Regions from separate parts of the Homo sapiens genome. Here all the other regions are linked to region 2. The links are contacts of gene promoters, found by promoter capture Hi-C in blood cells and fetal thymus (Javierre and others, 2016). All regions are on one chromosome and are shown on one strand. Each heading gives the region's core, a stretch centred on a gene start or on the middle of the fragment in contact. The rest is flanking DNA. Distances are from core to core; before and after follow the strand shown. Region 1 holds the start of CXCR1 (C-X-C motif chemokine receptor 1). Region 2 holds the start of PRKAG3 (protein kinase AMP-activated non-catalytic subunit gamma 3). Region 3 holds the start of CXCR2 (C-X-C motif chemokine receptor 2).

Region 1 (3,742 bases), core at 483-2,982, 660 kb after region 2:
TAATCCCAGTGCTTTGGGAGGCAAAGGCAGGAGGATCACTAGAGGCTAGGAGTTCAAGATAAGCCTGGGCAGTATATCAGGACCCTTTCTCTACAAATAAATAAATAACTAAATAAAAAATAAAAATAAAAATATAATATAAAAAAAGAAAGCCAGATGTAGTGGCTCTTGCCTGTAGTCCCAGCTATTCAGGAGGTTGAGGTGGGAGGATTGCTTGAGCCCAGGCATTTGAGGTTACACTGAGCTATGATCACACCACTGCATTCTAGCCTTGGCAACACAGTGAGAGCCTGTCTCTTAAAAAAAGAAAAAAATTCTTTCCAGTGCAGAACTGTAGGAATCCATGGCATGGTAAATTTGGCATTTGTGGTAGGGCAGGATTTATACTTGCACAGACTGGCATTAGCTCCAAACATTAGAGGAAGGTTGGAAAGAAGCAATGCCAGGCAGACCAACTGGGCTGTGTGGAAGTGAAGCTATCAGGCATACCAGTGACTTTAGTGTGTAGCCAAAAGCAATAGACACTGAATCGTGGTGGTGACTTATGGTCCATGAATCACAGGAGAAATGTCTCCCTTCATTTATTCCACAACCATTGATTGAGCACCTACTATATTCCCTGAAAGAGAACATAAACATGAATTGAAGAAGGTTCTTGCTGTCTCATGGCTCCCAAGCTAGAAGAGGGCTGACTTGTAAATGCCTCACAGCAGGGTTCATGTTATATGGAGAAGTGACGAAGGTGCCAGAAGACTCAAGCTAGGGGACAGCCATTAGCTGCTGGAGGCAGCTAAGGTGGGTTCCCAGAGAAGCCATTCTCCGTTACTGAGATGGGGGCTGCAGTGACCTTGACCACAGCTCTTCCATTCATGGACTGCCCCAGCTCTGTGGTCTCTCTGCTAACCAGCCAGACTCTGGGAGTGGCCTATGCCGTCAGCCTCAGGGCCATTTAAACCAACTGGTCATTGGCAGTGATTGTGCGAAAGAGTGGCTGGCGGCAAAGGAGGGTTTGTGTTCCATTCAAATACCCTCAAAAAGCCTGAAAAATAAGTAGAGATTGAGGCCAGGCCTTGGAGTTGTGGAAGGTGGAGAACACTGGGAAGCCAACCTCCAAAGAAGACCAGGTTGGAGGCAAAGGAGGAAGGGGAGCTCTCGTTGGCAAACCAACAGGGAAGCCAAGGATATCCCAGTAACTGCTCTCACATCCTTGATGAGAATGCCTTGAATCCGAGCTAGGCCACCTCAAAGAAGCCTGCAAAATAAGTAGAGATTGAGTGCCTGCTGTTCAAACACAACTCAAGCGCAGTCCTCCTCCTCTTTCCCACTGGATTGCCCCCAAGTCCCTCCTATGGGGGACTCCTTCTGAAGTCTCTGCTGTAAGTCAAATCCTTCGCCCTTTATACTTGGTCAGGAAGTTGCAAGCTTCCACAGGTGATATACTAGGGAATTTAGGAATAAACAAATGGAAATAAATTCAAGAAAAGGAAAATAATAAAAATGATCATCCATAGAGTGGAGAATTCAGATAATGGACCCTCAACCCCAGCTTCACACCTGGGACCCCCACTTGGTCATATGGACCCTGGCAGTCTCTAATCACAAGTCTGTGATCCCTTGACTTAAACTGTTCTTCCCCAAATGTAGACATGGGTGGGGCTCAGAAGGGAGGTGTCATCTGATGTGGTTTCCTTATTTCCGTTTATTCATCAAGTGCCCTCTAGCTGTTAAGTCACTCTGATCTCTGACTGCAGCTCCTACTGTTGGACACACCTGGCCGGTGCTTCAGGTAGGAAGCCACCTCTGTTTGCTAGGACTTTCTGTGGGGTAGGGCTGCTTGGCTTGACTTTATTTTGGAAAATGTATTCATTTCTGTGGGAGCTGAGGATTTCTGCTGCCCGCTTCCTCTCTTGTGACCACCACTCATACATGGAGTTAGCAGGTGAAGAGGACAGCCTCCTCATCCCCTCTTTTTATACCTTGCCCTTTTGTGGGAAGAGGCTGACCATTCCCCAATTTGATGTTTATTGCTTCACCTTAAGACTTTGTCTTCAGTGAAAATGCAAATACTGGTAGGGAGGGAACACACTAAAATGTGTGGATCTGAGTGGACTCATCATACACCCTCAGGCCTGGCAGCAAATGAGAGGTGGATGATTCTGTCTTCCTCGATTTGCAGATGAGAAGACTGAAATCTATAGGGGTACGAGACCCCACTCAAGGTCATGAGACTTATTTATTTATTTATTTATTTATTTTGAGATGGAGTCTCACTCTGTCGCCTAGGCTGTAGTACTGTGGCACGATCTCGGCTCACTGCAACCTCCATTTCCCGGGTTCAAGTGATTCTCCTGCCTCAGCCTCCTGAGTAGTTGGGATTACAGGTGCACGCCACCACACCCAGCTAATTTTTTTGTATTTTTAGTAGAGACGGGGTTTCATCATTTTGGTCAGGCTGGTCTCGAACTCCTGACTTCATGATCTGCCTGCCTTGGCCTCCCAAAGGGCTGGGATTACACACGAAACTTATTAATGGTAGAATCAGGATGGAATGAAGACTGGATGCTAGGTGTCTTTACAACCAACCTCGGTGACTTTCCAAAGGCTTTCAGACTTCTCTGGAGAGTCCTGGAGCTTTGAGGGGCTCTTTAGGGGCCATCTGGGTTCGGAGATTAGCACACTCTGCCCCACAGTGGCTCAGCTTTTATCTGCTTCACATACTGGGCTTCTGGGAAGATCTTATTTCAGTAAACTATTTCACAATAGGAAATATATTTGAAAACTCTTGAATGATTCTGTGGATTTTTTCAGGGGTGGAGGGTTTCAGGGACCAAGATGGAGACTTTATCTTCTCAAATACTTAAAACTCCTTTAGACAGAGGAACAAAATATGTGCTCCTCATTTAAAGAAGGCTTAAAATATACAGTTTAATGCAATGTGTTGTTATCACTTCCTTCCCCCAGTAGATTTTAAGGAGGGTAAACAAGAATCAGGGAGAACATAGGAATAGAAATAGTAGAAGGGGACACCTGGGAACAGGTTTGCCTTCTTGCATTTTGCTTAATGCTGGCCCTTCCCTGAATGTCTAAGACCAACCTGGTCCCCACATCCAAATGCACAGACACAGCTGAGGATGGAGAAGGCTAAAGAGGGACAGAGGTAGAGACATAGGCTGAGAGGAGGCAGTTGTAGGTTGAGCTAGGGCTAAGGTGTTTTCCCCATATTCCATCTTACCCCACACTCAGGCCAGGCCTTAGAGTTGTGGAAGGTGGAGAACACTGGGAAGCCAACCTCCGAAGAAGACCAGGTTGGAGTCAAAGGAGGAAGGAGAGCTCTCATTGCCAAACCAACAGGGAAGCCAAGGATATCCCAGTAACTGCTCTCACATCATTGATGAGAATGCCTTGAATCCGAGCTACTAAATCACATTTCCTTCCTTCTAACCTTCCAGTTAGATCAAACCATTGCTGAAACTGAAGAGGACATGTCAAATATTACAGATCCACAGATGTGGGATTTTGATGATCTAAATTTCACTGGCATGCCACCTGCAGATGAAGATTACAGCCCCTGTATGCTAGAAACTGAGACACTCAACAAGTATGTTGTGATCATCGCCTATGCCCTAGTGTTCCTGCTGAGCCTGCTGGGAAACTCCCTGGTGATGCTGGTCATCTTATACAGCAGGGTCGGCCGCTCCGTCACTGATGTCTACCTGCTGAACCTGGCCTTGGCCGACCTACT
Region 2 (4,065 bases), core at 1,398-3,897:
CCTCACAGGGTTGCAAGGGATTACACAGGACATGGCATATAATGTGTTTTGCACAGTGTGTAGTAGACACTAAGCACTGCACGAACATGCAGGGTCATTATCTACATATGTAATTCCTAATCCTACCTCAATCCTGCAACGTAGATGTATTAGTTAGAGAGAGGCTTGGCTGCTATAACAAAGGTTCAATTTGTCGATCGTTTAAACAAGACAGAAATTTATTTATCTCTAACATAACAATCCAGAGGTAGGCAGACCAGGACAGGGGTGGGGGATGTTCTATCATTTTCAAACTGCATTTTCCATCGTTGGGTTCAGTTTGCTGCTCCGGCTCCCATCATCGTATTGTAATTCTAGCCAGTAAGAAAGGGTTCCCTTTCCTCCTAGGGGTACCCTTCTATCATATAATATATATGTATATAACATTGCTGCTCAAATTTCATGGTCAAACTTAGTCATATGGCCATACTATCTGCAAAAGAAGCTGTGAAATATAATCTTGCATTCAGTTAAAATTGTAGTGGTTTACTAACAGCAGAAGAAGGGTAGAAGAGATATTGCTCTACTAGAGCTCACCCATCTGGCCATCCCACACAAAAAACACAGTTACTGCCCTTCAAAAGGAGGCAAGTCAGAGTTCCATCTGAGTACGGCACCCAGCTGAGAGTCCAGGCTATCTGAGGGGTGGGCAGTTCCTTCTTCCAGGTAGATGGACACCCTATGGTCTGGTGACCTAAAAACTAACAGGCAGGTGATTTGCACCTCCTACTCCCCACAGACAACAGTGGAGGAAGAAGAGGGTAAGCTCAATTAAAACACTGACTCATGCTGAGCACACTGCTACGCGCCTATAGTCCCAGCTACTGAGATAGGAGGATCATTGAGCCCAGGAGTTTGAGACTAGCGTGGACAACATAGTGAGACACTGTCTCAAAAAAAAAAATCCACTTGCAACTGAAAGAATGGCAAACACCCAGCAGCTGCTGGATCTTAATTATCAAATCTGGTTGGGCAGGAATGGCTAAGCCCTTTCCTGGCAGTGGAGTAAGTTCTTGGTCAGCACATTTGACCACCCCTGGTTCTGCTCTCTGGGAAGATCTCCCCTTTCCACTCTCCTATGTAGCCTCTGGCTTTTCCTGCTGGGAAGCTGTTGTTTATCCAATATCCTTTGTCCCACACTGGCAAACTTGTGCTTTCTGCAGTCCTTCCAGCCTTCACAGCCCTCTTCCTGCTGGTGCGGATTTGGAGGGCTGGGAATAAGGCAAGGGAAGGGGTGTCAAACCAGGCTTTGCTGATCAGGCTTATGGTTTCTTTGCCAATACAACACCCTCACAATCTTAGAAGCCTTCTGAGTGGCTCCATGTTTGAGTAACCACAGCCAATGGCCTCATGTAGACCTTATTTTTATGCTTGAACACTCTGGACTTGGTGTTCTTCCTACTCTCCTTTCTCTCAAACTGGTGGTGGCTATCTTGAGTCCATTTGAAAAAACATGCTTGGTGTGAAGGAAATTCTCTTACACTGATCTCTGTCCTCTGAGCCAGTTCCCACTGTCCAGTGAGCAGATGTCCTTGAGAAAGGCTGGGGACCACAGGAACAGCCCTGGCCAAGGCTGTCCTCCCAACTCCATTCTCCTCCACCCTCCCCATTGGCAGAGTAGGAACATTGAGGGTTGATGGAAAACACATGTAATAAACTCAGACAGAAATTCACCAGTCTGTTGTTGAGTGTCCACTCCAGGGCCAGGGCTGGGATGGAAGAGGCTGGAAGGAGGAGAGAAAGGGAGGGGCAGAGAGAGGAAAGCCGGAGCAGCTGGGTCAGCATTCCCAATCCGGACATTGACTCAGGCTCCGGGAATGCCAAGGAAGAGGGTGGCAGCTACTGGAGCCAGGCTGGGATCCTGTTGGCACCAGGGATGTAGGCACAGCACTCACAGAGGGTTGGGGGCTGGGACACCTGCACACCCAGGCATATCTCCCAACCACAGGTGGAAACAGATGTCTCTTCCCCTGCGGGGAGCTCTGAGTGCTCCCCACGCCTTCGAGGTGATTCTCACAGCTCTTCACCTGCCTGAAACACCCACTCCATCTCCTTCACCTGAGAGAGGGACACACTCCAGGGACTCAAATCTGGACATCTGGACATACACTAGCTGCTCTCCTGGACTACCCACAAACCCCTTGCCTCATCTCCAGCCTCTGAGCTGGCTGCAACTTGCCCTTTCTAACTCCAGCACCACCCTCTACTGAAATTAGAACAAGGAAGAAAGTTATGCTGATCTGCCTCCATGTTCCCTTCTTTGGTGCCTGATAAAGATGAGGGAGGCTCTTGGAATAGGGGCTCAGGACTCTGAGAGCCCAACTCTGCTCAATGACCATGTTCCCACATGCTCCAAGCCACATCCCCTCAAAAAGGGTCCCTCTAGCTTGTCCTCAGTGACCCAGGAGGCAGCTGAGGACCAAGTACCCAGATTATCCGGTGCGCCCCTTCCCTCCCAGCAACCCCCAGCCTTCAGGGCTGTAGCAGCTGAGCAAATGGGGGCCCCTCCCTCTCATTGCCTGACACCCAATCAGAGAGAAACCGATCCTGGCAGGGCAGGGTGCCCGGGGCCGGGCCCAGAATAGTGCAGCCCAGCCACAGTGTCGCACACTTGCTCTCAGTTGGTCTGGGGCTGGCCACATGGAGCCCGGGCTGGAGCACGCACTGCGCAGGGTATGGGGGTCCCAGGGGAGCCGGAGCCGGGGCAGCTGAGGCCAGAAGATTGAGCGCACGGGCTGTGAATGTGTGTGTGGGCGTGTGTGTCTTCTGGTGTGTGTTTGGTCTGGATTTTCTCGTGAATATGGGCATGTGCATGTTTGGGCATATGTATTGTGAGTGTGTGTGGTTCTGTGTGCCTGGGAGTGTTTGGATGTGTGTGTTTCTGTGTGTGTTTGTGTATGGCTGCATGTCTGTGTATGGCGTGTGTCTGAGCGTGTGTATTGGTGTGCATGGGTGTGTAGGCGTGTGTTCAGGGAGAAGGGGTTTGGGAATGTAAGGCACTTTCCCCACTCCTTCAGAAACTCTTCTCCCCACAGACCCCTTCCTGGAGCAGCCTTGGGGGTTCTGAGCATCAAGGTAGGGAGAATGCCCCCTCCCTGGGGCCTAACCTCTTCCCCCACCTCCTTGTCCCCCACTTTTCTGGGACCCCAATTCCCTCCCAGCCTGGCTTTTATCTTCCTCCTTTTGGTCTTTCTTCCTCATTGTTCTTCCTCCTTTCCCCAGGTGTGTTTCCCTCACCTCCAATTTCCTCTTTTCAGAAGTGACTTTCCCACTTACTTGCTGTGTGATTTGCAGCAAATTGCTTAACCTCTCTGAATTTCTGGTCCCTCACTAGCAAAATAGGGATGATAATAATGCCTGCTTTATAAGGCTGCTGTAAGTTTTAAATGAGAAATATGTTGGAGAAAAGCCCATTGGAAGCTTGCAAATCCTAAAGATTATGAATAACATTTGAATTGATTTTGATGCATTACTCCCTATTAACCAAACAGGCCCCATTCCCCTTCCAGAGATGAGCTTCCTAGAGCAAGAAAACAGCAGCTCATGGCCATCACCAGCTGTGACCAGCAGCTCAGAAAGAATCCGTGGGAAACGGAGGGCCAAAGCCTTGAGATGGACAAGGCAGAAGTCGGTGGAGGAAGGGGAGCCACCAGGTCAGGGGGAAGGTGAGGCCAAGGCCAGTTCTGGGGAGGTGGGAGCCAGGGGAGTGGGAAATCCCAGAGGAGCCTGGGTCTGGTCTCTACCTCAGGTCCCTCCATAACACAGAGTTGGACCCAACCTTCATCTTGTGGCCTCAGTCTCCCTACATAGTAGAGAACAAGGCACTGCAGTGCCAGAGGCCAGCATGGCCAACTCAGAAAGATGGGACAGAGCCACTACCTGGGGCGACTCTCAGGTCAGCCCCTCACCTGCAAATAGGGCCACAGCATCCAGGCTTCCCACTGCTGCTGTGAGATGAATGGCGACAGCAGATGAGAACGTGCTTTGGAAGATGGAGTTACTGTCCTCTTCCCCTCCTCCCCCAAA
Region 3 (4,181 bases), core at 661-3,160, 710 kb after region 2:
AGTCGGCAGTGGGTCTGCTTTCAAGGCTGACTTTGATGACATCTAATTTACTTTGACCTGGATATTAATTGTCATATTAGCTGTAATGTTGAGTGTCTACCAGGTTCTAGCTTCTGGGCAAAGTGCTTTCCAGAATTTGTATCAATTAATCCTCAGGATAACCTCACGAAGCAGGCACTTTCTGGAAGAGGAAATGAAGACTCTGAGAGGTTAAGCAACATACCTAGAGTGACACAGCTGAACTAGGTTTTCAGTTTAAAAAACTTCTAAAAATCTGCTCTCAAATCCTATCTCCTGTTCACTGTAATAAGGAGCAGGATCCCAGCCTAAAGTTTCTGAGCTCCATTAGGTACCTCCCTGTGTCCCAGAAAGTCAGATACAAAGGATGTAGAGAGGGGAGCCCAGATTTGACATTTCCCAGTCAGCCTCCTTCTTCATGCTCCTTAGGTCAATTTCATTTCCATGGAGATCACTGCGGTTATATGCAGGGTGGAGTGAATTAAAAAACTGGCTTCTGGTGCGGTGGCTCATGCCTGTAATCCCAGCACTTTGGGAGGCTGAGGTGAGTGGATCACTCGAGGCCAGGAGTTACAGAACAGCCTGGCCAACATGGTGAAACCCCGCCTCTATTAAAAATGCAAAAATTAGCCAGGCGTGGCAGCGCACGCCTGTAATCCCAGCTACTCCAGAGGCTGAGGCATAAGAATTGCTTGAACTCGGGAGGCAGAAGTTGCAGTGAGCCGAGATTGTGCCATTGCATTCCAGCCTGGGCGACAGAGCAAAACCCTGTCTCAAACAAAAACAAAACAAAAACCTGGCTTCTAATCCTGCTTGGAGAAGTCATTCTTTCTGGGCCTTGTTGTGTGCCTTTGGAAAACGGGAGCTTCTTCTAATTCTATTCTGTTCAGCATGCTAGCTACTAGCCATGTGTAGCTATTTAAATTAAAATTAATTAAAATAAAGGCCAGGCAAGGTGGCCCATGCCTGTAATCCCAGCACTTTGGGAGGCCGAGGTGGGCGGATCGCTTGAGCCCAGGAGTTTGAGATCAGCCTGGGCAACATGACGAAACCCTGTCTTTACAAAAACAAAAACAAAACAAACAAACAAACAAAACCCAAAAAATTAGCTGAGTGTAGCGGCACATGCCTGTAGCTGCAGCTACTTGGGAGGCTGAGGTGGGAGAATCACCTAGACCTGTAGGTTGAGGTTGCAATGAGCCAAGATCATGCCACAGCACTCCAGCCTGGGCATTGGAGTGAGAGCCTGTCTCAAAAAAGAAAAAATAAAATAAAATAAAATGAAATAAAAATTGAGATCCGCAGTCACACTAGTCACATTTCAAGTGCTCCGTGGCCACGTGTGACTAGTGGCTACCATACTGGGCAGGGCAGGTCTAGGACATTTCTATTATTGCAGAAAATTCTTTTGTGCAACACTGTCTAGGTGAAGACTTAGTTGTCTTTAGCTCTAAGCTTCTACACTTCATCACCCCAGTTCTCAGGGGCCTCAGAGGAGGCTGAAGTTTCCAGATCTCTTCCATTAGAAATATGTTGCCAGCATCTCAGACTGAACAAGTCACCTACCTGCTGTTATTGGAGTGGCCACCGATGTCTTCACTGTGCCTCAAGGTTGGGTGGTAGTCAGAGCTGTTAGACAGGAAAAAAAAGATGAAACAACCTTGACGATGAAACTTCTGACCTGGGTTGCAAGGGGGAAATCCAGGATGCCCTCCTGGGGAGGTATTCCCACAGAGGAACAATGAGGTCTGTCCTGGGACTTTGGCCCAGGACAGGTGCCACTTAGTGATTCTGGGATGAGTGCTGGGGATTTTCACATCTTCCTGTCTGATGGCTTCTGGAGGAGCCTACCAGTCTGAAGGTGGAGATTTGTCTATCCACCTTCTGTCTCTGAATGTTTTGAACCTGCACTTCCTTTTTTAACAAGGAAGATGCAGGCATCCCAGCCCCCGCCAACGGACTTGTCTGAACTCGCACGCAGTTTCTTCCTTCTTTCCGGGGTCAGAGTGAGAAGCGTCCCTCCTTCTGTTTCTGTTGAATCCCCGCACCTGACTGTGGGACCCACTGCCTCTCTGGTCCTTGAGGATCCTGCTTTCTCTCCCCTCTGTCCTGGCTCTTTCCCTTCTACCACATCTTACTTATGGCTTTATCATGCTCCCTCTGTCCTAGCACCCTTCAGCCACCACAGCTGCTCTCTCCACTTCCTCACCTCCCCTCTGCTGCTCAACAAAGACACTGCAACTGGCTTCCTTCCTACTGCTCCACTGAAATAACTTTCGCCAAGGTTCCCAATGACCTCTGGGTTACTAAACCCAGCAAATCCATTAAAAAAAAAAACAAAAACAAATTGCTTTCTTTCCCCCCAAGACAACAGATTGGAGGCAGCATTAGCATGCCTCTCCCATCTGGAAGGACAGAATAGCGTGTAGAGATTCACACTATAATTTTTTTTTCTCCAGGAACGAATGCAGGAACTGAACAGGAAAGCTGAAAGAATCCACAGAACTTTTGAAAGAAGTGGCAGGCTGCAGCCTACTCTGTGAGACAGGCAAAAACTCACCTCTAGGCAGAATAGCACTGTACCCAGGAAGGAGAAAACGGCTGCATATTCTCAGCTATCACCACTGCTTACAACACCCTGGCTAACCAGAAGTCCTGCGTCTGTCCACGTGATAAGTTCACTATAATTATAACCAGCATTTGAGAAAGTCAATACTCTAAGTCTATCTACAACCAAGGAATCTTGCAGAGTTTGCATCACTCCCCTCCCACTTCTGTCAGAGATGGTGCTGGTATTCACTGCTGGGAGTCTTGAAGACAGGTAACACCACTGGATCCCTTGCAGACATTCCCTAGCACCAGCCCAGAGTCTGGTAGGCCCACTGGGTGGCTAGACCCAGAAGAGCACTGTAGTCTGGCTTCCAGGAAGTCCCATTCCTAGAGGAAGGGGAAGAACATCACATCAAGGGAATACCCTGTGGAACAAAAGAATCTGAATGGCAGGGCTTGAGTCCCAGATCTTTTCACTGGTGGGAAGTTTCCTATTGCAGAGACAATTGCTGTGCTGGGCAGAGTGGGGGAAAGTTTGCACCTCTACCCAATAGGCAGGCAGCCTCTGGTATTGTGAAGGGTCTTAGAGAAGGGATCCTTGTTCCCCCTGGTACGCCACTGCAGACAGAGCTGGGGCTTCTCCCAAAGGAACGCAGCATTGATGCACCTATAGACAGCCTTCCTGGAACAAATCAGGGTGATTGCATCCCCACGGGAGGAGCACTCCCCAGATTCAGGTTTGCATGACAGGCAGTCACAATTCCTCTCTACTTGGAACATCAACATTTCTACAGATGAAAATAACTGCCTGTCTGATCTGAATAGCTGGAACACTGGGAAAGGAGTGAAGCTGGGAGGTGGATAGCTTTCCAGCTGGCCTAGTGGGGGACCTGAGGTAGCTCCTACCCTTCACCCTGACAAAACCTCAGCACATCTAATTGAGAGCTCTCCCAGGCACTCTCATCAAGGCTGGGATCTCTGCCCACCTGCTTTAGCTACAACCGGTGCCTACCCACCTACTTTAGCTACATCTGGTGCCTACCCAGGGATACTTCCCCTACTGGTCCAAAGCCTGAATCAACTCAGTAAGTAAAATACTGGGGAAAAATTAAATAAATAAATAAAGAGTACCCCACGAGAGAATGAGGTAAGCTTAAAGAGATTCCTGCCATTCCAACCCTGTAGGAGACAGTAAACCTTCCCACACACCAAGTACGTAACTGCTACAACCAGGATCTGGGAAAGCCAGCACACAAGGACTGTCTCTAACTAACGAACTCATACAGAGTCTTCACTCCTAAAATCCAAAAGTCTTCACTCCTAAAAACCAAGGATCAAATTAGGCTAAAATAAACTATAAATATTAAAGTCAGATCCTTAAGAGGGAAGAAAAAGAAATAAAAAAAAAACATAGTTGCTGGGCGTGGTGGCTCACGCCTGTAATCCCAGCATTTTGGGAAGCTGAGGCTGGCAGATCACCTAAGGTCAGGAGTTCAAGACCAGATTGACCAACATGGAGAAATCCTGTCTCTACTAAAAATACAAAATTAGCCGGGTGTGCTGGTACATGCCTGTAATCCCAGCTACTCGGGAGGCTGAGACAGGAGAATCAC

The links. The method cuts DNA at HindIII sites, captures the fragments that hold promoters and counts their contacts. A CHiCAGO score of 5 or more calls a contact.
Region 1: the fragment with the promoter of CXCR1 here is called in contact with the fragment with the promoter of PRKAG3 in region 2 in 3 of 17 cell types (erythroblasts, naive B cells and total B cells); the score reaches 8.7 in erythroblasts.
Region 3: the fragment with the promoter of CXCR2 here is called in contact with the fragment with the promoter of PRKAG3 in region 2 in 2 of 17 cell types (non-activated CD4 T cells and erythroblasts); the score reaches 7.5 in non-activated CD4 T cells.

Annotation. Positions count from the first base shown.
Region 1 is chr2:218,164,952-218,168,693 of GRCh38, reverse strand. CXCR1 (C-X-C motif chemokine receptor 1) reads left to right here and starts at 1,732. Exons shown (of 2, transcript NM_000634.3): 1 at 1,732-1,786; 2 at 3,450-3,742. The coding sequence starts at 3,483. The HindIII fragment of the contact is 3,933 bases long and covers 1,425-3,742 here.
Region 2 is chr2:218,830,385-218,834,449 of GRCh38, reverse strand. It overlaps PRKAG3 (protein kinase AMP-activated non-catalytic subunit gamma 3), which reads left to right and starts at 2,647. Exons shown (of 14, transcript NM_017431.4): 1 at 2,647-2,712; 2 at 3,075-3,114; 3 at 3,549-3,704. The coding sequence starts at 2,680. The HindIII fragment of the contact is 3,600 bases long and covers 1-3,461 here.
Region 3 is chr2:218,123,757-218,127,937 of GRCh38, reverse strand. CXCR2 (C-X-C motif chemokine receptor 2) reads right to left here and starts at 1,910. Exons shown (of 3, transcript NM_001557.4): 1 at 1,585-1,910. The HindIII fragment of the contact is 2,247 bases long and covers 1,476-3,722 here.